Linked DNA regions of Homo sapiens: regions 2, 3 and 4 are each linked to region 1. Evidence: promoter capture Hi-C in 16 types of primary human blood cells and fetal thymus (Javierre and others, 2016). All regions are on one chromosome and are shown on one strand. Each heading gives the region's core, a stretch centred on a gene start or on the middle of the fragment in contact. The rest is flanking DNA. Distances are from core to core; before and after follow the strand shown.

Evidence for each region. Contacts are between HindIII fragments. The CHiCAGO score rates a contact against its expected background, and 5 or more counts as called.
Region 2: a contact is called between the fragment with the promoter of ZNF135 here and the fragment with the promoter of ZNF835 in region 1, in 4 of 17 cell types (non-activated CD4 T cells, erythroblasts, activated CD4 T cells and 1 more). The highest score is 10.3, in non-activated CD4 T cells.
Region 3: the fragment with the promoter of ZNF606 here is called in contact with the fragment with the promoter of ZNF835 in region 1 in 4 of 17 cell types (non-activated CD4 T cells, erythroblasts, total B cells and 1 more); the score reaches 8.6 in non-activated CD4 T cells.
Region 4: the fragment with the promoter of ZNF256 here is called in contact with the fragment with the promoter of ZNF835 in region 1 in 4 of 17 cell types (neutrophils, activated CD4 T cells, total B cells and 1 more); the score reaches 8.7 in neutrophils.

Annotation. Positions count from the first base shown.
Region 1 is chr19:56,669,016-56,675,008 of GRCh38, reverse strand. It overlaps ZNF835 (zinc finger protein 835), which reads left to right and starts at 3,252. Exons shown (of 2, transcript NM_001005850.3): 1 at 3,252-3,433. It overlaps LOC105372473 (a long non-coding RNA gene), which reads right to left and starts at 3,030. Exons shown (of 4, transcript XR_936110.4): 1 at 2,578-3,030. The HindIII fragment of the contact is 4,177 bases long and covers 3,158-5,993 here.
Region 2 is chr19:58,056,722-58,062,714 of GRCh38, reverse strand. It overlaps ZNF135 (zinc finger protein 135), which reads right to left and starts at 3,433. Exons shown (of 5, transcript NM_001289401.2): 1 at 3,405-3,433; 2 at 2,680-2,746; 3 at 1,009-1,135. The coding sequence starts at 2,712. The HindIII fragment of the contact is 3,956 bases long and covers 480-4,435 here.
Region 3 is chr19:58,000,807-58,006,799 of GRCh38, reverse strand. It overlaps ZNF606 (zinc finger protein 606), which reads left to right and starts at 3,980. Exons shown (of 7, transcript NM_001348022.3): 1 at 3,980-4,404; 2 at 5,430-5,511. The coding sequence starts at 5,481. It overlaps ZNF606-AS1 (ZNF606 antisense RNA 1), which reads right to left and starts at 3,906. Exons shown (of 4, transcript NR_036508.1): 1 at 3,754-3,906; 2 at 3,464-3,589; 3 at 2,100-2,417; 4 at 1-893. RefSeq lists an enhancer at 3,629-4,048. The HindIII fragment of the contact is 14,498 bases long and covers 1-4,865 here.
Region 4 is chr19:57,944,148-57,950,140 of GRCh38, reverse strand. ZNF256 (zinc finger protein 256) reads left to right here and starts at 2,435. Exons shown (of 3, transcript NM_005773.3): 1 at 2,435-2,699. The coding sequence starts at 2,667. RefSeq lists enhancers at 2,197-2,286, 2,357-2,456, 2,947-3,026. The HindIII fragment of the contact is 12,388 bases long and covers 1-5,993 here.

The DNA.
Region 1 (5,993 bases), core at 2,003-4,502:
CAAAGCACCGCCAACCTGTGGCTGCAGCAACAGACATTTATCGCCTCACGCTTCTGGAGGCTGGAAATCTGAAATCAGGGTGTAGGCAGGGATGGTTCCTTCTAAGAGCCATGAAGAAGAATTTGCTCCAGGCCTCTCTCCCTGGTTTGCAGATGGCGGCCTTCTCCCTGTGCCTCTACATATCATGTTCTCTCTATGCGTGTCTCTGCGTGCAAATGCACCCTTTTTATAAGGACAGCTGTCATTTTGGGTTATGGCCCACCCTATTTACTCATTTTAACTTTATTACCTCTGTAAAGAACCTGTCTCCAAATAAAGTCACATTCTGAGGAATAGGGGGTTAGCATTCCAACATATATTTGGGAGGGGGGTGAGCATAAATCAACCCCCAACAGGTAAATGTGGCTTTCTAAAGAAAATTGTCTTAAAAACCATATTTAAAGGAAATGAATATTTGAGTTGTTTCTGTTGTCCATCCTTTGAGGAAAATGTCCCTTCTCATGAAGCTTCCAGAAGGAAGAGGGAAGCACAGAATGCCTCTTGAGGTCTACGAATAAGTAAAATATGAACTGTAAATAAAGCATGTGTCATGGTTTAAGGGCAGCCGTGGGGCTACATAAAGTAATGTGGAATCTCACAATCAATGGCATGTTGGTTTAGTGAAATGCATTTTTTTTCCCATTCTATCTTCACAGATTTCTCTGCTTTTCCAATTATCTAAAAATGATCTCATGCCTATGTTTCCAATGGCCAAGGGAATAATTTAGGAAGGCTAACAGAATTCCTTCAGAGCAGGCACCTTAAAATAATGCCGGCCAATAGTAAATGCCATGTGCATGTCAACTATTAAAATTATTTAAGGCCGAGGTGGAAGGATTGGAGTTCAAGACTAGCCAGGGCAACATAGCGACACCTCATCTCTACAAAAAATAAAAGTTAAAAAAAAGTTAGCCAGTGTGGTGGCACATGCCTGCAATCTCAGCTACTCAGGAGGCTAAGATGGGAGGATCACTAGAGTTGGGGAGGTCGAGGATGCAGTGAGCCGTGATTGTACCACTGCACTCCAGCCTGTGCAACAAAGCGAAACTGTTTCTAAAAAATAAAACTCTCTCCTGCCTCTGCCAGGAGAGAGCTTGTTCCTCCAACCCCAGGAGGCCAGGCAAGCATGGACAGGAGCCAAGGGAGCAGGGTCATGAACTTTTTCATCTTTGCAAAGTGGGCACTTGGCATCAGGGTCCCATCACCAGAAAGCACCAAAGCCCCTGGCACCCCACCCACTCCATCCTACCCAGGGACCCCAAGTAGGCAACTGCTATGGCAGTGGGTCCAGCCCAGGCCGGCACTGCCAGCCTCCTCTCCCTGCAGTAGGCACCAGCTCTACCTCCCCCGGCAGGCAATGTCCTGGCTTCTCAGCCCAGCACCATCTGTTCCCCTAGACTTCTCAGGGGCCAGCCCAGTCTGGGCCACCCTTTCCCTCATCCTCGGCTCCCACACAGGTGACAGGCCCAGCAGATAGCTTCTCTCTGGGAAAGGTTGGATGCTGCCTTACATCCCCTTCTATCCCTCCTCCCATCCACACACACAGGCACCCACCCACACCAGGTCTGCTTGTTTCTCACATGTAGGGAGAGGGGGGGAGACCAACCCCTTTGTGTCTTTTGAAATACGAAGAAAAATGTGTGTTCAGGAGCATGACTCCAGTGCTGGGCTCTTGGGCCCAGTTCAGTCTGTCTTGTCTCAAATCTAGGCACTTTTGCTTCAATTTTATTTTTTTTAAGAAAACAAAAACAGAAATCTGCACTAATTTACCTGGTTCTTAGGAAAACTTTTTTTTATTTTTTACATTTTTTGGTGTCCGTTTGTATTGAATAATTTGCTACATTTGTAAAATGTAAGAGGTATATATAATATATGTATATTTCTAACGTAAAAACAATTTTTTTCTTTTCAAGATTTTTTCTTAAAAAGATGAGAGAAACATATTTTTTCAGGAAAAACAAACTTTAAAAAAAAAAGAGGAGAAATAAAACCTTTTCTCCCCTTTCCCCATCCTCTATCTATCCCTGTTTCCCAGGAACAAATCAAAAGGTGGATTATCTTCTGAAGAATGGAAACTGTTAGTCCAGAATGATGTCTTTTTCTCAATGCAGTGAGTTATAGATTCTCTAGTTTTCTCCCTAGGGATGGGAAGGGGGCATTGACGCAAGCCTGGAGAGGAGCCCGGGGAGCAGGGTCATGAAGTTTTTTCTTCAGTGAAGGAGGAATACAATCAAGGGTTTTGTATTCAGAATGTTGTGCAATATTTTGGAATAGGACATTGGTGTGTTTAGAGATTTTAGTTTAAAAACAAAACAAAAAGATTGATCAAATCTGTACAGTTTCTATTGTTCCAGATTTTTTAAAGTTTGTATTAAAAGCATGATACATAATAAAAATAAATAAATAAATAAAACTAAAAAGTAAAATGAAATTCTTCATCTATGTTAATGGATTTGCCACCTTCTTTGCCATAGACTGGAATGACATCAGCTACCTGAGACCAAAATAAAAGTGTGGGTTGCAAACCCTGGCACCTACCTTTTTAGATTCCGCAGCCTGCAGTAGGGACTTAGCCTGTCTGAACCTCAGCTTCCTTCTTTCTTCTTCTTTTTTTTTGAGACGAAGTCTCGCTCTGTCACCCAGGCTGGAGTGCAGTGGTGCGATCTCAGCTCACTGCAACCCTCGCCTCCCAGGTTCAAGCCATTCTCCCGCCTCAGCCTTCCAAGTAGCTGGAAGTGCATGCCACCATGCTCGGCTAATTTTTGTATTTTTAGTAGAGACGGGGGTTTCGCCATATTGGCCAGGCTGGTCTCGAACTCCTGACCTCAGGTGATCCACCCGCCTCGGCCTCCCTAAGCGCTGGGATGACAGGTGCCCGGACTCAAGTTCCTTCTTTCTAAGCCTGTGGGCTCGGCCTCATCCCCTGAGCAAGAAAAAAGTCCCACCCCTGAGTTACTGGAAGCGCCCACCGCCATGCACTGAGGCTGTAGTGGGCGGGGCTCGGGGCAGCAGCCCGGCGCTCCTCGGGCCCCCAGGGGTCAGCGCCCTGCGGACCTAGCGTGTGCAGACGCTTAGCCTTCTGGGAGTTGTAGTTTCGATGACCCAGGCTTTGCAAGCTTTAGTCGCGGTGCCGGCGAGCGCGCAGCGCCCCCTGGGAGTCGTAGTTCCTAAGAACCAGGCGGGCCCGATGCGCAGGCGCAGTCCACCCCGGCCTGGTGCGCGGGCTCCTCCGCAGCAGCAGAAGTCTTGACCTTAGCTCGTCTAAGGAAGGAGGCACCAGGGTCTGCGTTGGCCCAGGAGGACCCGAGACTGAGTAGAAGCGGAGCCGACTGCACCAGGCTAGGAGGGGGCCGGCCAGCGCGTTCGAAGGTGATACCGGGAGGCGAGAGCAACGGTGTGTAGTGTGCGCGTGTTCCTGCAGGTGTGTGACCGCGTGTGAGCCCGTCCCCGAGTGCCATTGTGTCTGCACCTGTTCACTTAGCGGTGTCAGCCCGTATAGGTGTGTGACTGCCTGTGAGCCCGTCCCTGAGTAACACAGCGTCTGCACCTGGTCACTCGACGGTACCAGCAGGTGCAGGTGTGTGACTGCCTGTGAGCCTGTCACTGCATCTGCACCTGCTTACTCGGCGGTGCCAGCCCGTCACTGTGTCTGTACCTGCTCACTTGGCGGTGCCAGGCCGTGCAGGTGTGTGACTGGCTGTGAGCCTGTCCCTGAGTGTCACAGCGTCTGCACCTGCTCACTCGACGGTACCAGCAGGTGCAGGTGTGTGACTGCCTGTGAGCCCGTCCCTGAGTGTCACAGCGTCTGCCCCTGCTCACTTGGCGGTGCCAGCCCATCACTGTGTCTGTACCTGCTCACTCGGCGGTGCCAGGCCTTGCAGGTGTGTGACTGCCTGTGAGCCCGTCCCCGAGTGTCACTGTGTCTGCACCTGCTCACTCAGTGGTGCCAGCCCAGGCAGGTGACTGCAGGTAAAGGCATGTAACACTTTATCGGTGTGTTATGTGCTCGTTCATGTGAAGCGGTGTCTGCATATCACAGCATGTCACATACACGTGTGGCTGCCTTTGGGCAAGTCTGAAAGTTCTCCTGGATGTGAGGTGTGTGACCCCACGTGTGCATGTCTGGGTGTGCCGCCGTGTAGGCTGGCTCGGCCCGTGTGCCTGCCAGCACAATGATGGGTGACCTGGCTGTGCGAGCCTGTAGAGTGCCGTGCTGTCTGAAGTGTGTGCATCTGCACATGATGGAGACGCTGCACATGTGGGCTTTGGCTATGCTGGAGCTCTATCCACCGAGTGTGACTGCACATGTGTCCAGCCATCCCCTGTGGGTGTGTCCCAGTAATGGCCGGCCTGTGTGGAGCAGGTGGCATGTGTGACCTTGTGCGTCTCTGTGCACCTCTTCACACAGGGAGCTACGTGTGGGGCTGGGTGTGTGTGTAGCTACGTGTGCCCGGGACCCTGTGTGCATGTGTGAGTGTGGCTGCAGGTGATGGCTTCCCACCTGCCTCCTTGCATGGGGGTTAGGAGGGCGACTGTGTGTCCCTGGATATGGGTTTGGGTGTCTCTGCATGTCTGTGTGTGTCTGGGCAGGTATGATTGTGTATGACCCTGTGTGTGTCAGAGTGTGATGTAATGCATGTGTCTTCCTGTGATCTTGTGATATAATAAGAAATATATGTTTAATCTTTATCCCCAGCTCCTGGTACCAGAGCCCCTAAAACCCTTGGAATTTCCTGAGTGACAGGGGTAGAAGGAGTGTCTTCTGCAACTCTTAATAAGCCCCCTGCAACCACACCTGTGTTTATGCTAATGGAGGACTCCTGATAGGCCCCCAAGTACATTTATGCTAATGGAGGACTCCTGATAGGCCCCCAAGTACATTTATGCTAATGGAGGACTCCTGATAGGCCCCCAAGTACATTTATGCTAATGGAGGACTCCTGGTAGGCCCCCAAGTACATTTATGCTAATGGAGGACTCCTGATAGGCCCCCAAGTACATTTATGCTAATGGAGGACTCCTGATAGGCCCCCAAGTACATTTATGCTAATGGAGGACTCCTGATAGGCCCCCAAGTACATTTATGCTAATGGAGGACTCCTGGTAGGCCCCCAAGTACATTTATGCTAATGGAGGACTCCTGATAGGCCCCCAAGTACATTTATGCTAATGGAGGACTCCTGATAGGCCCCCAAGTACATTTATGCTAATGGAGGACTCCTGGTAGACCCCCAAGTACATTTATGCTAATGGAGGACTCCTGATAGGCCCCCAAGTACATTTATGCTAATGGAGGACTCCTGATAGGCCCCCAAGTACATTTATGCTAATGGAGGACTCCTGGTAGGCCCCCAAGTACATTTATGCTAATGGAGGACTCCTGATAGGCCCCCAAGTACATTTATGCTAATGGAGGACTCCTGGTAGACCCCCAAGTACATTTATGCTAATGGAGGACTCCTGATAGGCCCCTAGGATGGGCTGGTTGCCACGGGAGCTAGCCCTGATGAGCATTCCAGCCTTCAGCCAGCCCCTACCTCCTGGGAGGGGAGAGGGCTGGAAGTTGAGTTCATCACCGATGGCCAGTGTCATCACACCTATGTCAGTCACGCCCGTGTCATGGAACCCCCATAACCACCCTAAACTTAGGGTTTGCCGAGCTCTGGGGCTGTCGAGCACCCAGAGAGGGCATGGTGCTCTGAGCTCCTCCTTATACCTTACCCTGTGTGTCTTCCATCTGGCTGTTCCTGAGTTGTATCCTTTATTGGAAACCAGTAACCGTAAATAAAGCATGTCCCTGAGTTCAATGAGCTATGTGAGCAAATCACCAAACCCAAGGAGGGGTTGAGGCAGTTTTATGGTTGGTAGCTGCCTGTGCCTCCCAGTCAGAGCAGATTGGAGACTTGGTTGTTGGTGTGGAGAAAGCCCACGTGTCAGAAGTGCTGGGAGTAGAC
Region 2 (5,993 bases), core at 2,184-4,683, 1.4 Mb before region 1:
TTTCTTAAAAATAAAAAAGGTTCAGGCCGGACGCAGTGGCTCACGCCTGTAATCCCAGCACTTTGGGAGGCTAAGGTGGGTGCATCACGAGGTCAGGAGATCGAGACCATCCTGGCTAACACGGTGAAACCCCGTCTCTACTAAATATACAAAAAAAAAAAAAAATTAGCCAGGCGTGGTGGTGGGCACCTGTAGTCCCAGCTACTCAGGAAGATGAGGCAGGAGAATGGTGTGAACCCGGGAGGCAGAGCTTGCAGTGAGCCGAGATCGCACCACTGCACTCCAGCCCGGGTGACACAGCGAGACTCTGTCTCAAAAATAAAAAATTTAAAAACAAATAAATAAATAAATAAATAAATAAGGTTCAAATGTTAGAATGTAATACCTAATCTGATAGTGTTGAGGTGGGGCCTTGGGGAAGTGATTAATTCATGAGGGCTCCACTCATGAATGGGATCAGTGCCCTTATAAAAGAAGCTTGAGATAACTCCCTTGCCCTTATGGCATGTCAGGACACAGGAAGAAAGTGCCATCAGTGAGGAGCAAGCCCTCACCAAACACTGAATTTGCTGACACCTTGATCTTAGGCTTCCCAGCCTCCAGAACCATGAGCAACAAATATCTATTGTTTAAAATTACCCAGTCTAAGGTATTTTAGCAGCCCTAACAGACTAAGACAGAAGTGCAGAGGGAGGTGTTGAAGAAGGAGGGGCTCCTAACAGCTCTACAGAACACCCTGGTCTACCCTGGGATTCTGTAGTCTTCAGACCCAGTATGTTTCCCTCACCTCATGTTTCTCTGCTTCTGTTGATTTCAGGTTGAGTCTGAGACTTGCTAATATTGGTCTTAATTGATATTTCCTACATTAAAACAGTCAGGTTCTTAAAGCCCAAGACATACAGCCCCAGGCATTTGCTTTTAAAGCTCAGTCCTATAAATATTTAACCTGGTAGAATCAGAATCCGTGTCAGGGACAGATCAACAGATAGGACATGGGTGTGGCCTTACCCACAGAGACCAGAAGCCTGAAGGTGTCCAGCATTACATCACGGTACAGGGTCCTCTGGGCAGGCTTCAGCTGCCCCCACTCCTCCTGGCTGAAGCCCACTACCACGTCCTCAAACGTCACTTGCTCCTGAAACATCACACGAGTGTCCTCAGCCAAGCCAACCCTGGCACTGGCTGCTGGTGGGGTAGCTGGTAAATGCCAGCCAGGCTGGGTCGGATGGAGTTCCCTTTGGTCTGGGGTTTTGGGTCAGGTTTTTCTGTGGGGCCTGGATGGGTGCCCTGCTGATGAGGTGGAGGATCTTAGAATCTAAGGCATCATGCCCGTTTCCAATAATTTGTCTCTTGAAATAAGAAATGGAGGGAGCCAGCAATAAAGGAGTGGACCAGCCCAGCATGGTGTCGCATGCCCGTGGTCCCAGCTGCTTAACAGGCTGAGGTGGGAGGATCACTTGAGCACGTAAGTTTGAAGCACAGTGAGCCATGATTGCATCACTGCACTTCAGCCTAGGGGATAAACAAAGTTATAAAGCTAGTAGCAGAAGTCTAAAGACTGAATCTGGGTGGTTTTTTTTTTCCCCCGAGACGGAGTCTCGCTTTGTCGCCCAGGCTAGAGTGCAGTGGCATGATCTTGGCTCACTGCAAGCTCCGCCTCCTGGGTTCACGCCATTCTCCTGCCTCAGCCTCTCGAGTAGCTGGGACTACAGGCGCCCGCCACCCCCCCGGCTAATTTTTTTTTGTATTTTTAGTAGAGACGGGGTTTCACCGTGTTCGCCAGGATGGTCTCGATCTCCTGACCTCGTGATCCGCCCACCTCGGCCTCCCAAAGTGCTGGGATTACAGGTGCGAGCCACCGCGCCCGGCCAAATCTGGGTTTGTTTTTTAATTTTTTAGAGACAGGGTTCCACTGTCATTCAGGCTGGAGTGCAGTGGCACATCATGGCTCACTGCAGCCTCCAACTCCTGGGCTCAAGCAATCCTCCCCCATAGCTGGGATTACAGCTACAAGCCATCGCACCAGTCCCCTTGTACGGGTTTTCTGACATTCCTACAGGAGGCTGGTTTCTTCTGGTGGCTTATGGGTGGGGTTAATGTCATCATAAAAAGGCGAGTTCCGCCCCCTTGGCCTCCATGACGTCTGAGGAAGCGGCACTCGATGCGCCATCTTGGAGCGCAGAGCATGCTAAGGCCTTCAACTTCAGACTGCAGAGCCGGGGCACCTACAATTTTCTGACATCACCCAGCCTCAGGTATGCAATGACGGCCGCACAAACATAAAGCCCACTCAGACAGGGACCCGTGCCCGCTGACCTCCAGCGCGGCGTGGGCGGTCCTTTCAGAGGCAGGCTGTGGTTGGGGAGCTTGGCGCGGACTTTAGGAGGCCGGGTGTGCAGGTAGAGGCCGGACACGAGTAGAGGCTAGATGTGCAAATAGAGGCCGGGCACGAGTAGAGGCCGGGCACCAGTAGAGGCCAGGTGCGCGAGTAGAGGCCAGTTGTGCGAGTAGAGGCCGGGCACGAGTAGGGGCCGGGCACGCAAGTAGGGGCCGGGCACAAGGAGGAGGCTGAGCGCGAGTAGGGACGGGGTGCAAAGAGGAGGCCGGGCGTGAGAAGGCCGCGCGCGAGGAGGCCGGGCACGAGGTGGAGGACACGCGCAAGGAGGCCGAGATTCTCACCGGGTCTGTGGAGACGCGCACCCCAGGGGTCATGCCCTGGCTTCTGGCAGGAACGGCTGGCCCTGCTCTGTGGGAAAGGGGAGGTGAGCAGCTGGGGCAGGCAGAGGCGGTGCTCAGGTCCCCAAGCCGGGGAACTGCGCCAGAGCCTGGGGAGCTCCGCGGAGAGCCGTCCAGGGCCCCGCGTACCCGTTTAAGCGCCTGCTGTGTGTGGGGCGGCCCTCCGCTCGGAGAAGGGCAGCCTAGGGTTTTCCCGCCTGTCTGAGGGAAGCTGAAGGCCTGGCGGGTGCGGACACATATCTGCTGCGCAGACTCTGAGCCTTAACGCTACAGTGACAAGGGCCGGGTGGTTGCGGTCCCCTGGCCCTGGGCACTATGCCTCAGTTTCTCTCTTCCATCAACAAAGGTGGCGGCCCAGTGCCCGGTGTGGGGCAGAGGTGGGGCCAGGGGCGGGGCGCGCGTTCCCTCAGGGGCCGTCGGAGCAGCTCCTGTCCAGCTGGGCGTTGGGCCCCGCCCTCCTCTCAGACTAGGGATGCCCCGCAAAGCCTGCCCCCGCCAGCCCCGAAACGGCCTTCCCCAGGCCCCGGGCAGCAAAACGGACTCCACACAGACGCGCGCTGCTGGAAACTCGCCCCGCCAGGGCCTCAGGAAGATCCCCGGACCCCCCGCACCCGGCCCGGCCCGGCCCGGCCTGGCCTCCCCTCCCCCTCCTCGCCGGCCTAGCTCACCCTCCTGACTGCGAGACAAAGGCCGCGGCACCGGCAGCCGACACTGCGCCGGCGCGAGCCTAACTCCATTTCCCAGAGAGCCGCGCGCGCATTTCCGGCCGCCCTCCCCCACCTCGCTCTCGCCCTTGGCGTTCGTGAGCTCTCAGTGCTGCTGGAGCTGGAGTGACTGGGCCTGGTGAAACAGGGCGCGCGGGGTGCCTGGGCATCAACGCGGGATAAGTGCCGCTTGGAACGCCGTGAGCTCCCGGCGCGACCACACGGGCTTTCGTGTTGGAAACTCTACCGTCAGTTTTACTGCTGCAAACAAAGCAATGATTTTTTCAAAACACATACTTTCAACCAAAACATTCACCAAGATCGCACACACGGGAGTCTTTGCATTTTCCACACTGAGGCAGCCATGGAGACTTCACACTGTATTTATTACATGGTTATAAGGAACATCACGTGCAAGACACTAACAATTATGACGACTTTGGACATTGCTAGGTAATTGTCAAAATTGTGCATTTGAACAGCAGCAAAATATTCAAAGCTGGTGTGCCCTCGCTGACACGAAATGAATTGTCATTTTCTGAACATTCACCAAAGCCTGCCAGGCGCTAGGCCTAGGTTCAGCAGCACACAATAGTGAAGCCCCCATTCAAGCGGGCTTCGTTTCACCAGCGTACGTCACACGTCCGTGGAGCAGCGAGACCAGAGGAGCTGGGAAAGCCAGGGCTGAGCCTTGTGCTTTTGCCCTTTTAAGGGAGGACAGATTAATTCCAATCAGCCTGGGCTTGGGAGCTGTATTTGAAGCAGAGGAAAAGTTTTAAGACGGGCATTTTTTTTTCTTTGACTGAAACAACTCTGAAAACAGCAGAGAACACAATACGAATTCTCGTACCACACACAGACACTTGCAAAGATTTGGCTGGTTAACACACAAGTTAAGACTTTAAATTTCATAAGCCCTAAAACAGTGGCAATTATGAAGAGATATAATGGCTCAAAATCATAATGCACTGATGTAAACAAAGCAAAGGCAAGCTTCTTGGCTTTTAAGGGCGTCCTGTACATTCCAAGTACTGTAAAGCCCCACATTTGTGACCGTCGCACTGAAAGCCAGCCTGCTTTTCACTCTACAGCAGTAAAGAGGCTTTCCATTATACATAAAATGCCGTTTTTCAGTTCTCGAACTCACAAACCCAAATGCCACAAAACATCTTTTTGTGTATTTTTTCTTTCACAAAATGTATACTCTTGCCCCCCACCCCCACCCCCAACCGTTTCCTTTTACTGGATCAAAAGGTATGAACACACAACTCATGGTGAAGTCTTTTTCCCAAGCGGTCTGATAGTCCTGGTGAGAAGCTGTCAGTGGTGCCACACTGAGCCTGCTCAGCCCTGATGGTGGCCAGGCGGCCCTGCCCAGCTCCCTCAAACTTGCCCCTCTGTTTCCTCCCTCAGACCTTCTGATCCTCTGTTTTTCTCAGCCAGGTTTCTAAACCGTACATGCTTTTGCAGGGGCGGGCTCTTTCTACAGGGGCAAGTGCTGCTTGGCTCCAGCCAAGTGGGGTCGTGCGGACTGGCAAGCCCAGCGTCCCAGGTCTGGATTTCTCTAAAGAACCCAGAGATCAGGATTTCTATGTGAAATCTCTTGATTTTTAAAAGCTGGTAGGGATTTCAAAGGCTTTAATAACACTCTACCAGTCAAATAAGATGAGCTGGAGGCTACTCCAGTGCCACCCTTGCTGTGGTCTGAACCTCCTGCTGTCTCTTGTAACCACTGGCTGGGCCCCTCTCAGCTCCTTCTTGGCTTCCTGTACGAATCTCCAAGCAGAGCATTGCTGGTTGCCTCTCTGTGGCCTGGAACAGGACCCCCCACCATGAGCAGGTGGGCTGCACATCAGTACAGCTTCCAAGCAATCCTGCAATCACAGCATGGATAGCAGAACTGTGTCATGCTGTATGTTAATGTTCAAAAAGTTAATCTGTTCAACACATACATTTAAAATATACTGTAACAGTTACAGCTCCCTGGACATATTTCTCCCTTTAAAAAAAAAATCTTTTTGACAGCTTCAAAACCTGGCAGTGTCCAGGCCTCCTCTGACCCAAGAGACCCTGGCTGCCAGGGAGAAAGGTGGCGTCTGAGACTCCGGTCTTCCAGAGCGTGAAGTGCCCAGGGCTGGGCTCACAGCTCCTGTGACAAGGGCTGGAGGACAGGAGACTGGGGCACATCGTGATGGGGGTGTTGGAGTCTTTGGGGGGTGCTGGCAGAGGAAGGCACAGGGCAAGGGAGGCGTGCTGAGGTGCTGGGGCTTCCACAGCTGGGGTGAACCCAAAGAGAAGAGAGGGGCTAGTGCTCTGTCTCACTGCAGCTCGGGCAGGGGCTTGGGACTGGGCAAGTTAGGTGAAGAACACCACGTGGTGGCTTTCGTGAGTTGCAGCAGCTGCCACAACTGGTCCAGCACCCTGGGCCAAGTCCTTGCTTCTGTCAGCCAAGGTGTAGCACGTGAGAGTGGCCCTCCAGGACCCTGGGCCACGTCCTTGCTTCTGTCAGCCAAGGTGGAGCACACAAGAGTGGCCCTCCAGGATCCTGGGCCA
Region 3 (5,993 bases), core at 2,731-5,230, 1.3 Mb before region 1:
TCTCCTGCCTCAGCCTCCCGAGTAGCTGGGATTACAGGCATGCGCCACCACCCCGGCTAATTTTGTATTTTAGTAGAGACGGGGGTTCTCCATGTTGGTCAGGCTGGTCTTGAACTCCCAACCTCAGGTGATCCACCTGCCTCAGCCTCCCAAAGTGCTGGGATTACAGGCATAAGCCACCGCGCCCAGCATGGCTAATTATTTTTATTGCTAAGTAGTAATCCATTAAATTGACGTATCAAAATTTCTTTATCCATTCTCTTGGTTACAGACATTTGGATTATCTCCTGGTTTGGACCGTCATAAATAATGCCACTGTGAGCATTCTTGTACATATCTTTTAGTGGACAGATGTTTGCCTTTCTTTTGAACAAACAGGAGTAGAATCTCTAGGTCATAGTACAGGTTTATGTATAATTTTATAAGAAATTGTCAAACTTTTTTCCAAAGTGACTGTACCACATTATACTCCCATCAGCAGGGTATGAGAATTCCAGTTGGCACCATGTCGTCCCATTTGATGCTGTATTTTTATTTTTGGTCATTCTAGAGGATGTGTAGTGGCAATGTCCTTTATTTTAGGATAAGAATCAGCAATAATAAGAAAAGAATCTATGTAGCAATTACCTTGCCCTTTGTTTATACAGAACAGTTCCAGCTCCTTTACTGGACTAAGATCGAAAACCCCAACTCTCATTGCATTTACCTTACCCCTTCCTATCTCGGGGGTTGTCTTAGTCCATTTGTGCTGCTGTAACAGAATAGCTGAGACTGCGTAATTTACAAAGAAATGTACTGCCTTACGGTCTGGAGGTTGGGAAGTCCAACATCAAGGTGCTCACATATTTGGCGATGATGAGTTCAAGATGGTGCCTTGGACACTGCATCCTCACCTGACAGAAGGTAAAGGGCAGGGTGGTGGAGGGTGGGGGTGGGGGGAGAGAAAGAAAGAGAGAGAGAGAAAGAGAATGCAAGCACATGCAGAATCTCTCCATGAACCTTTTACAATGGCATTGTTGACGAAGAGTCAAACTCTGTAAAATATTTGAAGAGATTTACTCTGAGCCAAATATGGTGACCAGTGGCCCCTGACGCAGCTCTCAGGAGATCCTGAGGACATGCCCAGGGTGGTTAGGGTTCAGCTTGCTTTTATACATCTTAGGGAGACATGAGACATCAATCAATACATATAAGATGTATACTGGTACAGAAAGTTTCCAGGTTATAGGCAGATTTAAAGATTTCTGATTGCCAATTGATTTAAAGAGTTATTGTCAATAGAAAGGAATGTCTGGGGTTGTGGAACTCAAGGTTTTACCAAGCAGATGAAACCTCCGGAGATAACAGACTGTAAATGTTTCTTATCAGACTTAAAGAGTCTGTTCTATCACTAATTCTAGAAGGGAGGAGGGTATAATGAGGCAAGTCCAGCTTCTGCTTCCCATCATGGCCCGAACTCATTTTTCAAATTAACTTTGGAATGCCCTTGGCTGAGAGGAGGGGTCTATTCATATGGTTGGGGGGTGGGGGGCTTAGAATTTTATTTTTTGGTTTACAACATTAATCCATTCATGACAGCAGAGCCTTATGACCTCCATAAATCCCATTAGACCCTGCCTCCCAACACTACTGCACTGGGGAGTAAGTTTCAACATGAATTTTGGAGAGGATAAAAACATTCAAATCATAGCAGGGGTGTTTTTCTTCATCTGGTTTCCTGACACCTTTAGGTCAAAGGTATCTCTCTCATTTGAGTTCCCTCTCAAAAGTGAACAGAGCTACCTCATCTCTCTTTAGAATATGAATTCTAGTCTTATTTTATATGAACATTGAGGTTTGTGTAGCAGGTATTTGGTGATTGCATATCTTAAAACTTGGCTTCTGTACTGTATGAGACTATCAGTTACGATACGAAGAAAATAAAAAGAGAGTAATACAATTGAGAATTAGGGAGATGAGTCACAGCTGGCTGTTACCAGGATGTGACATCTGTGCTGTGATCTGGATGAAAAAAAGAAAACCCTGGGGCTGTACAAGGAAGAAGATTCCAGGAAGAGGAAACAATACGTACAAAGGCCCTGAAGCAGGAATGGACTTACCCTGTTTGAGGAGTGGCTGGGGTCCAGAAATGGGCAGGAATGACAGGAGATGAGCTTGAGGGACTGAGGTGGGGTGTGGGATAGGACAGAGGCCAGTCCTGCTGAGTTTTCTAAGCTGTGAGCTGGAATTTGGATTTTACTTTAATTACTTGGGAAGCCAGTGCAGAATGTGAGGCAAGGACCTGATGTGAGATCCTAAAAGTGCCCTTGGCTGCCTGCTGGAGGATGAGCTGTAGGGGGCTGGAGTGGAAGTGGAGAGACACTCTCTTCTTACTTCTGTCACTCTTCCTTCTCCAGCCTCTCTTTCTCTGCTTGATCCTGAGATGGAAATTGTGGCTGTACCATCCATAGATTGCTTTCCTCTCAGTGCCCACTCTGACTGGGTTCACCTTCCTGCCAGCTGGGGCCTGTCCCAACACCTTGCCCCTTCCACCTTACCTCTCTCATGGTCCTCTCCCTCGAATTCAGCCTGTCCTACTTGAAATTTTCCTCTCCCTTGAATTCAGCCTGTCCTACTTGAACTTTTCCTCTCCCTCTGAAAGGGCTACTCCCCTTTGCCCACCCACAGTGAGTGCCAACACCACCCAACAACAAAAGCCCAACCCACAGGCCAGCTTTTTAAAATGATCCTCCATTACTAGTGGAAATATCTTCAAAATCTCTCTTGCCCACTGCTCACTCAAGTCTAGCTTCCTAAATGGCCATGCTTTCTTTGGTATCACCACCTACAGTCCCTCAGTCCCTTTTTTTGAGACAGAGTCTTGCCCTGCTGCCCAGGCTGGAGTGCAATGGCTTGATCTCGGCTTACTGTAGCCTCCGCTTCCCGGGTTCAAGCGATTCTCCTGCCTCAGCCTCCCAAGTAGCTGGGTACAGGTGCCCTCCACCAAGCCCGGCTAATTTTTGGTATTTTTAGTAGAGACGAGGTTTTATCATGTTGCCCAGACTGGTCTCGGAACTCCTGACCTCAGGCGATCCACCTGCCTTGGCCTCCCAAAGTGCTGGGATTACAGCTGTGAGCCACCGCGCCCGGCCCGTTTTTGTTTGTTTTAATGCCGGGTCTTGCTCTGTTGCCCAGGCTGAAGTGCAGTGGTGCGATCATAGCTCACTGCAACCTTGACCTCCCAGGCTCAAGCAATCCTTCCACCGCAACCTCCTAAGTAGCGGGGACTACAGGCGCGCGCCATCACACCGGGCTAATTTTTGTATTTTTTTTGTAGAGATGTGGTCTCGCTATGTTGCCCAGGGTGGTGTCGAACTCCTGAACTCAACTGATCCTCCCGCCACAGCTTCCCGAAGTGCTGGGACTACAGGAATGAGCCACCGCTCCCGAACCGCTCCATGCATATCGATAGAGGAAAACTCACAGGGTGCGTCGCTGGTAACCCATGCTCCCATAAAGCCTGGCCTCTGGAAAGAGACTTGGGAACGAGCCCTGACGTTCTCAGCCGTCGAGCTTCACAGAGAAGGGTAGCTCGAATTAGGTTCCTTATCTTAAAGAGAATAACAGCAGTCACTTTCTCACAATCTTGCGAACGCCAAATGGAAGGATCCCTCGAGAGCGCTGAGAACTCGCCGAGCTCCTCCCGGGAAACCCGGTACCACGAGGCGCCATTTTGCGGATGGGCAAACCGAGGCCCGCGGGGCCGCGACTTACCCAGGCCTTTTTGCAGTGGGAGGCGACGGTGGAGGAGGGTGGTCTGGGACCGGGACAACAAAGTCCATCCTGCCGCCGGCTTCGACGCAGGTGCCAGAAAGGTCCCAACCCCGCCCAGGCAGGGCGAGGCGGCGCGGCCCAGGAACCTGTCATGGCGGCGCCGCTGCCCGACGCCGGAAGTGCCCGCCTGGAACTACAGCTCCCAGCAGACCCCGCGGCGCGCTCCGGTCGACGCCGGGGAAGCAGCCGCCATTGTCCGCGGCTGAGGTGAGGCCTTTGCTCAGGCTGTGGGGCCGCCGTAGCTGCGGGGCTTGGGGGGTCAGGAGAGCCGGCTGGGAGAGGCGGCGTCAGGGTGGGTCCTGCGCCTGCCCTTTCCGCGCCGGCTTTGCGCCGTCGTTGCCGTCGGTTCTCCAGCCAGCAGCCTGCCTCCGGCCTCCCGCCTCCGGGCGTTCTTCGTTTTCTGGTCGGACGGGCCTGGGTGAACTCTGCTGCACGTCGGCTCCGCGGGCCTTTGTCCCCGAGGCCGCGCCGGGAGCTCCCAAGCGCACTCCTGGGCCGGACCTCGGCGCGGGACAAAAGCCAAACGCCCCAGGCGGGCAGACCCCGATCCTGCTGCGCCGCCTTCAAGGGGGACCGCCGGCCGCGAGCCAGGTGAGGCCGGGACGAGCTTTTGCAGCGTCGCGGCCGCGTCGGTCTTGAGGAGGAAATTTGGGTCGGGAGCTCTGGAAGCAGGTGATAAGGATGCTTCTGAGGCCATTGATGGGACGAATAACCCCGTTCGTTCCCCAGCCGTCGTTTCTCCCCCTGCCAGTTCACACAAAGCACTGTGAAGGACGTCAGACCTGGGTTGGAAACAGCTCCGGGTTCCCTTAAACATGCAGTGACGGCGGCGGTCACTGTCAAGTTGCAAATAATGGTGCAAAGTACGGTTTGCATTCTGCGTTTTCGCGCTGATTCCGGTGCTCCTGAGGCCCACTGTGTGTTCTAGTGCTTTATACACATACCCAGGAATCCATTCGAGAGGTTGCTGACTTGTACAAAGATCTGGAACCTGAGGAGTTAGGGGTCTGGGCGCCAGGCCCATCTCTAAGTCCTCCACACACACACAAGCTTAGGCTTAGTAAATCTTGGAGGTGAATTTTTTTTGGAGGTGGGATTAAATTTGCATAACATAATGTTCACTTTAAGCACTTAAAAGTGTGCAATTCACCGGTTTTATTGTATATTAATAAAGTTGTGCAATCATCCCCATTATCTAATTTTAGAACATTTCATCACCCCACAAAGAAACCCTTGTTCCCCTTAAGCAGTCACTCCCCATTTCATTTTTCCCCCAGCTCTAGGCAACCACTAATATATGAGGATTGCAAGTTGATTTTACAATAATTGTCAGATTAATCCAAAAGTTCCATCTGTGTTGTGACTGGCTGTCTCTTGGGAATAGCTGACAAATTTGTACCCTCTCATTCAGGATCATGCTCTTTTTTCCAGCTTATGCAAATTACCTTTCATTTCTCTCCAGGAATTGTGTTACTTTTTTGACATGTAAATTCTCTTTTCTTACGATGCTCCTTACAAGTTTTTTTGTTGCTTCGGTGGATGGATTCCCTTCTTTGTTCCCACTTGGTCTTCTGTGAGAAAGGACTAGTTTTGTCTTTTTTCACTTTTGTCACTAGGTTGGGATTTGCTGTGTTCCTGGGCAGGTGCCTGGTCAATCAGTCCTCGGGATGGCAGCCATCAACCCGTGGGCCTCCTGGGGTGAGTCCAAGTTGTGTTTCTCCTGGGCCTCCCCTATCATTAGCTGCTGCAGTCATGGGTCAGAGCTGGTGATGGGCTGAGGACTTTTGAGGATGGAAGGGGGTCTGTCTATCTTGGTACAAAATTAGAACTGATTGGTGGTAAAGGAGGAAAATTGTTGGCATAAAAGACACTAACTTTTATGTTTTATAGTCATCTCCTGAGAGGTGTCATTAGTTTTAAGGGATTTTTCTGGTGGTTTGTGGGGTTTCCTAAACAACAGTGATACATATAATAAAATATTGTCTCTACTGCTCTCATATATATTTTTACCTTTATTGTTTTTACTTATATAGCATTGGTTGGTAATTTTAAAACGGTGTTAATTAATAGTGACTCACCTGTGCATTGCCTGTGTGAATCCAGCTTATGTTGCATTTTTTTTACACACCCTTGGGCTCTGTTTATGGAATTTTGTAGTGCCCATTAGCGAGTCAGCCTCC
Region 4 (5,993 bases), core at 1,186-3,685, 1.3 Mb before region 1:
CACCCTCCAGTTGTCTGCATAACCTCATTCTTCCTGGACGTGGGATAAGAACTTGGGGGACAAGAACTTGGGACCTAACGAACAGCAGGAGAGAAAGGGGCTGTAACACATTCCTGGCTGAGTAGCCATGCTTCTGGGCTGCATGAGTGAAAAATGGCGACTCTTCTGGAGGCCCAGACTTTGGGATTCCCCGAGCCAGAGCTGTAACACTATAGCCCTCCTGCCCTCAGCCAGCACTGGGTGGCCGCCCCCCACGATGGGAAGCAGCAGCGAGCCAGAGCAGGGCAGCGGGACTGAAAGAGCTATATCACAAACAAGCTGAAAACACACCCCACCCAAAACACACCTCCCCGCTTGCCAGGCTGCAAGCAACGGGAAGGAGAGAAGAGCTGTGGCTCTTCCGGGAGCCCAGGCCTCGAGACTCCGGAGCCAGGGCTGTGACATGCTGCAACACCCTCTTTGGGGTTCTGCTGTTCTTGGTGTCTCCGAGCTTTCCGGCGCCACCATTTTTCCCTCGTCTAGATGCTGGTGCCTGCAGCAGAAGCCGCCTGCAGTATGTCTGGTCCAGTCGCAGACTTGCAAGGAGCCGGCGCCTGTGCCAGCGCCTGGAGCTGCCCGCCCCGCCGCAGCAGCCAGCGTGCCTGGCTGTGTGCACTGGCTGGACCCTTCACTTGCTCGCTCACACACCCCTTGCGGCTCCGCGCCTGGCTCGCCCTTGGTAGGTGTGGGATCCAGGTGCAGCCTGCTGGGCCGAGTGGGTGGAACAAGCCCAGCGGGTGTGAGCAAAACTCAAGCAGAGGCGCGACCACAGAGGTTTCTGGCTGGCGAAGCGACACCCATTATTAGTAGCTTTCTGTAATTTGTATTTTACAATTCTTTTTCTGATATCGTATCAATTTTTTATGCAGAACAGCCCTATAATAATGGGGGCAAAGGGCCGGGCACAGTGGCTCACGCCTGTAATCCCAGCACTTTGGGAGGCCGAGGTGGGTGGATCACCTGAGGTCAGGAGTTCGAGACCAGCCTGGCCAATATGGCGAAACTCCGTCTCTACTAAAAATACAAATACAAAAAAAAAAAAAAAAAAAAAAGATTAGCCGGGTACGGTGGCGGGCGCCTGTAATTCCAGCTACTTGGGAAGCTGAGGCAGGAGAATCGCTTGAACCCGGGAGACAGAGGTTGTGGTGAGCCGAGATCGCACCATTGCACTCCAGCCTGGGCAACAAGAGCGTAACTAATGGGGGCAAAGATAATCATTTCAGCGTTGAGAAGAGATCTTGAATTTAAGATACACCCTACATTTGGGATTCAGAGCACCCTTTGTTCCACCTGTTAATGCTCTAGCTAGCCATCATGCCTTTTCAAAATACCATTCCTTTTGTTGTTCTCTTTCTGAGCTTGATGTCAAATTATTAAAAAGAAGTGAATATAAAGGCATGGAGAAAGTGAGATTAGATTCATGCAAGTGTTGCTTAGTGAATTGGACACAATGTTTGACTACACAGGCACGAGAGGGACCCAGAGACAGGGATCTACTTATGTCCTGCTGCTGCAGGGTGCCTCCGCATCCCACCTTCATCCTCTTTGTCATGAACCTGTGTGGAGTGTTTTTTTTCTTGTCCCTAATCAAACATACAGAGACTGAGAAAACTGACTCCAGTGCTTGAGTGCATGCGTTTGAATTGCAACATAGTCTTTTTTTTTTTTTTTTTTTTTTTTTTTTTTTGAGACAGTGGCTCGCTCTTTCCCCCAGGCTGGAGTGCAGTGGCGCGATCTCGGCTCACTGCAAGCTCTGCCTCCCGGGTTCAAGCTATTTTCCTGCCTCAGCCTCCGGAGTAGCTGGGGACTACAGGCGCCCGCCACCACACCCAGCTAATTTTTCTTTTTTTTTTTTTTTTTGTGGTATTTTTTGTATTTTAGAGACGGGGTTTCGCTGAGTTAGCCAGGATGGTCTCGATCTCCTGACCTCGTGATCCGCCCGCCTCGACCTCCCAAAGTGCTGGAATTACAGGCGTGAGCCACCGCGCCCGGCCGCAACATAGTCATATTTATTTGCTTTCTCAACCAGTGGATATATTTTGTGACTGACTGACTGTATGTAATAATATGTGCATCTGGATATGTGCCTCTGGGAACACATGAAATGACACGTCTCCAAACAAACACTGGCAGACAGCAATCGGTAGAAACCTGGGTACGTCTCCTTTAAGAAAGAACGAAGCCTCGCCTCCGCCCCAACCTGGAGTGTCCATTTCCCAGCGCCCCCTACAGGGGTTTGGCCTTTACTTCCGGAAGGAGGTGGAGGCGACCCTCACTCTCCCGCCGTGCGCCTGTGGGAACATTACCCAGAATGGCCTGCGTTGGGCGACGGCGACCTTCAGCCAATGAGGCCTCCGAAAGGTGGTGTTTCCGTAAGCGCACGCGCGGTCGCGGCGGGACTTCCGTTGTCCTCCTTGTGGCGGTCGTTTTGGCATTTGTCTGGACTGATTACTTGGTAGAAAGCCCCGGAGCGCTGGGTCAGCATCATCCGTGACTGACTGAGAAGGCGCGAGAGGAGTCTTCCCCGCTGCACAGAGGCGTGGCTGAGGCTCGGCGGCGCCCAGGGTACCCAGGCCCGGCCCGGAATAAGGACATCCTCTCTGGCCCCGCTCCGCTCACAGAGTCAGATGGCGGCGGCCGAGCTGACGGCCCCGGCCCAGGTATGTGCCGCGTCCTCTGGGCCTTCCCCGCCCTCCCCACGCTAGTCCTAGCACCCCCGAGGGCGCTTGCTCGCGGCCCTGCTGCCCAGGACAGGACACGGGGGCTCGCCGGAGGGGCTCCCGTTTCCAACACCTGGTGTGCTAGGGAAGGGAGGGCGCGACTGGCAAGGAGCCCCTGATGAGAGGCGCCACTGAGCCCTGGGGCACAGAGGTGACACAGCCATTGCGAGGGCACCCGGCTCCAAGGCCAGGCATGGGGCTACGGGGTGGCTTGAGCCCATCTAATACCGCCATAGATGCTCTTCTCTGAGGCCTGGCTCTTTCTACGTTTCCCTTGGCTGTAAAGGGTTATGAAATCTACGCCAGGAAGGGGAGGGTTTCCCAGTCTCTCACTAGCCCTAACTCCCACCCACAGGTTCTCTGGGTTGTGGAGTGCCATTCCCCCAGCCCTTAGTTCTGAAGACCTTGGGTGAACCCCAAGCCCAGGGTCCTATGTCCATGTTAGCCGGTATATAGAGTTGTTCCAATTTCTGGCAGCCATGTGAACGGGTGTGGAAAGTTTTTCCAGAAAGGTACAAGATGTGCAAATGCTTAGGTGCAGTACGGAGCTGGGTGCATTTATGAAGCCACAAGTCTCCTTGCTTTCTGGTGGGAAGCAAAGAACAGGAGGATAGGCGTCAGGACTGCAGTGGCTGCCTGAGAAGTTGAGTGTGTTTTCAGGAGGTAATAGCAAGTTTGAATCAGAAAAAAGAGGTAATTTACCAAGGTCTTCACAGGCTTCATCTGTGTGCACAGTGGGGCACAAACTGGGGGGTTGAGGGAGGAGGAAGGAAAATCAGGGTAGACTAGTCCAAGTGAGGGTTACTGGCCCAGGATCGTGATTTAGGAGATGTGGTTAGATTCCGGATGTGTGGTTTCAAAAGGGACAACTAAATTACATAATGTAGGTGGTGAGGGAGTGAAACAGAGGGTTCAGAGAAGACTCCAGGGTTTTTGGTATTAGCAGCTGTAGGGAAAGAAGTTTCATCAACTAAGATGAACAAATTGGCAATAGGAGTAATATTCACTAGGGATATCAGGTTTGTTTATGCCATGCTAAGAGTCAGATCTTTCAGAGCCTACTAAATGGAGGCGTTAAGTGGGCAGATGAACGTGCCGGTCTTGAAATCTAGGGAGTGGTTCAGGGTGCAGATATTCAAGATGTGGCTGTTGTGCGCACCAAGGTTAGTGAGCTGTGGGTCACAGTTAGGCGGGGCAAGCTCCAGGTTTTGGTTGTAAAGCTGTTAGTGGGCCAAGACTGGGAGGATGATGATAGAGTAAGTGGTCATGAAGGCAAGGTATGTAAAAGACAGTGTAGTTTGGCAGTGGCCACGGCTCCCAAGAGAAGAATGGACATGAGATGGATGCAAACGCATAGGACACTCAGGCCAAAACTCGTGCTTATTCACCACTTTATGGGTATCCAGGATTTTGTGATAACTTGATGGGGCCTGGGTGTTTCATTCAGGCTGGAAGATTAAGTTAGTGTCATGTGGTCATTTGTGAGAGTCATTGTGTGTGAGATGAACGACCAGTGAGGCTGGGATTTAAATGAGCTTTAGGTGGATATATGACTCTCAAGGGGATGGTAAGTGCAGCACAGAAGTGGAATAGGGCCATGGTTATCTGTGATTCACCTGTGGTTCTGTGTGGCTATGTCTGAGGCAAGGAATACAGCCTGGCAGGGAGGCCTTCAAAGAAATTTTTGAGGCTGCTTCCACTAGTGTAAGCTGTGGGAAGTCTGGGATTTTGGATCCTGTTTATATCCACACTCTGGATGCTGCCTGCCAAGTTGCGGTATAAGGCCGGAAATTAAGGCCCAGTATGATATGTCGCCTTGACATCTGATGAAAACGATACAGCCTTAGATGGCCTGAGAACAAATTCCCCTTCCCACTTTGCTCCCATGAATAAGCTCTCTTAGCCAAATGAACCCTTCTTATCCATTCTTATCCAGGGAACCAGAACAGTTCCTGCTTATTACTTTGTAGTGGGTTTCAGTTCCCTATCAATTTTTTGAGTTATTCAAACAAGCCAGTCCCCTCCTCTGGGGACCAGTGGAGCTTCTCCATCTTGATGCTACAAAACTTACATTCTACAGCACCTGGTTGTTACTCTTTTCTGGAGTACTACCTCCGTATGGCCCTGTGTGGAGTGTGGTATTCTTTCACAGGCTATGAGTATTTGTCTTTAATTAATAAGCTGTTCAGCCAGGCGTGGTGGCTCACGCCTGTAATCCCAGCACTTTGGGAGGCCGAGGCGGGCAGCTCACAAGGTCAGGAGATCAAGACCATCCTGGCTAACACGGTGAAACCCCTTCTCTACTAAAAATATAAAAAATTAGCCAGGCGTGATGGCGGGTGCCTGTAGTCCCAGCTACTTGGGAGGCTAAGGTAGGAGAATGGCATGAACCCAGGAGGTGGAGCTTGCCCCACTGCACTCCAGCCTGGGCGACAGAGCAAGATTTCGTCTCAAAAAAAAAAAAAAAATTAATAAACTGTTGATCTCATTTGTCCAATGTCACGTGTCTTATATTTGGCTGTTGGTTATCCACTCTTTTTTTTTGTTCTTTGAGACGCAGTCTCGCTGTGTCACCACGCTGGAGTGCAGTGGCGTGATCTCGGCTCATTGCAACCTCCACCTCTCCACCTCCTGGGTTCTAGTGATTCTCCTGCCTCAGCCTCCTGAGTAGCTGGTACTACAGCCGTGTGCCACCACGCCTGGCTGATCTTTTGTATTTTTAGTAGAGATGGGGTTTCACCCTGTTAGCCAGGATGGTCTCCATCTCTTGACCTCGTGATCCGCCCACCTCGGCCTCCCAAAGTGCTGGGATTACAGGCATGAGCCACTGCACCCGGCCCAGGTTATCTACTCTTTCACTCAGGTAGCATGTGGGGAAGCCAGGATTTGCCTGTGGTATAGGACGTAGTGGTGGTCATGGTCATGTGGCAGTGGGATCTGGAGACCTGAGGTATGTGCAGTGTAATGAATGATATGCACTTGGAGAGGGAGTGTGCCTGATGGCCCCAGTGTCCTGATTGAGACTTACATGACCTTGGTCATATGAGAGGAATGCTTGTCAGGAAGGAGTGGTTGCCCTTATGCCACGCCCACAGCTTAGATACATGTATTTGTTCACCTGCCTCTTGTTACTGATGGCTGCAACCAGTGACCAAGAGCCCCATTAGGAGACAACAGCACCAGCTGACTGCTTTCTCCTCTGAGCTGGGGAGCTTGGAGAGCTTGGAAAGAGGA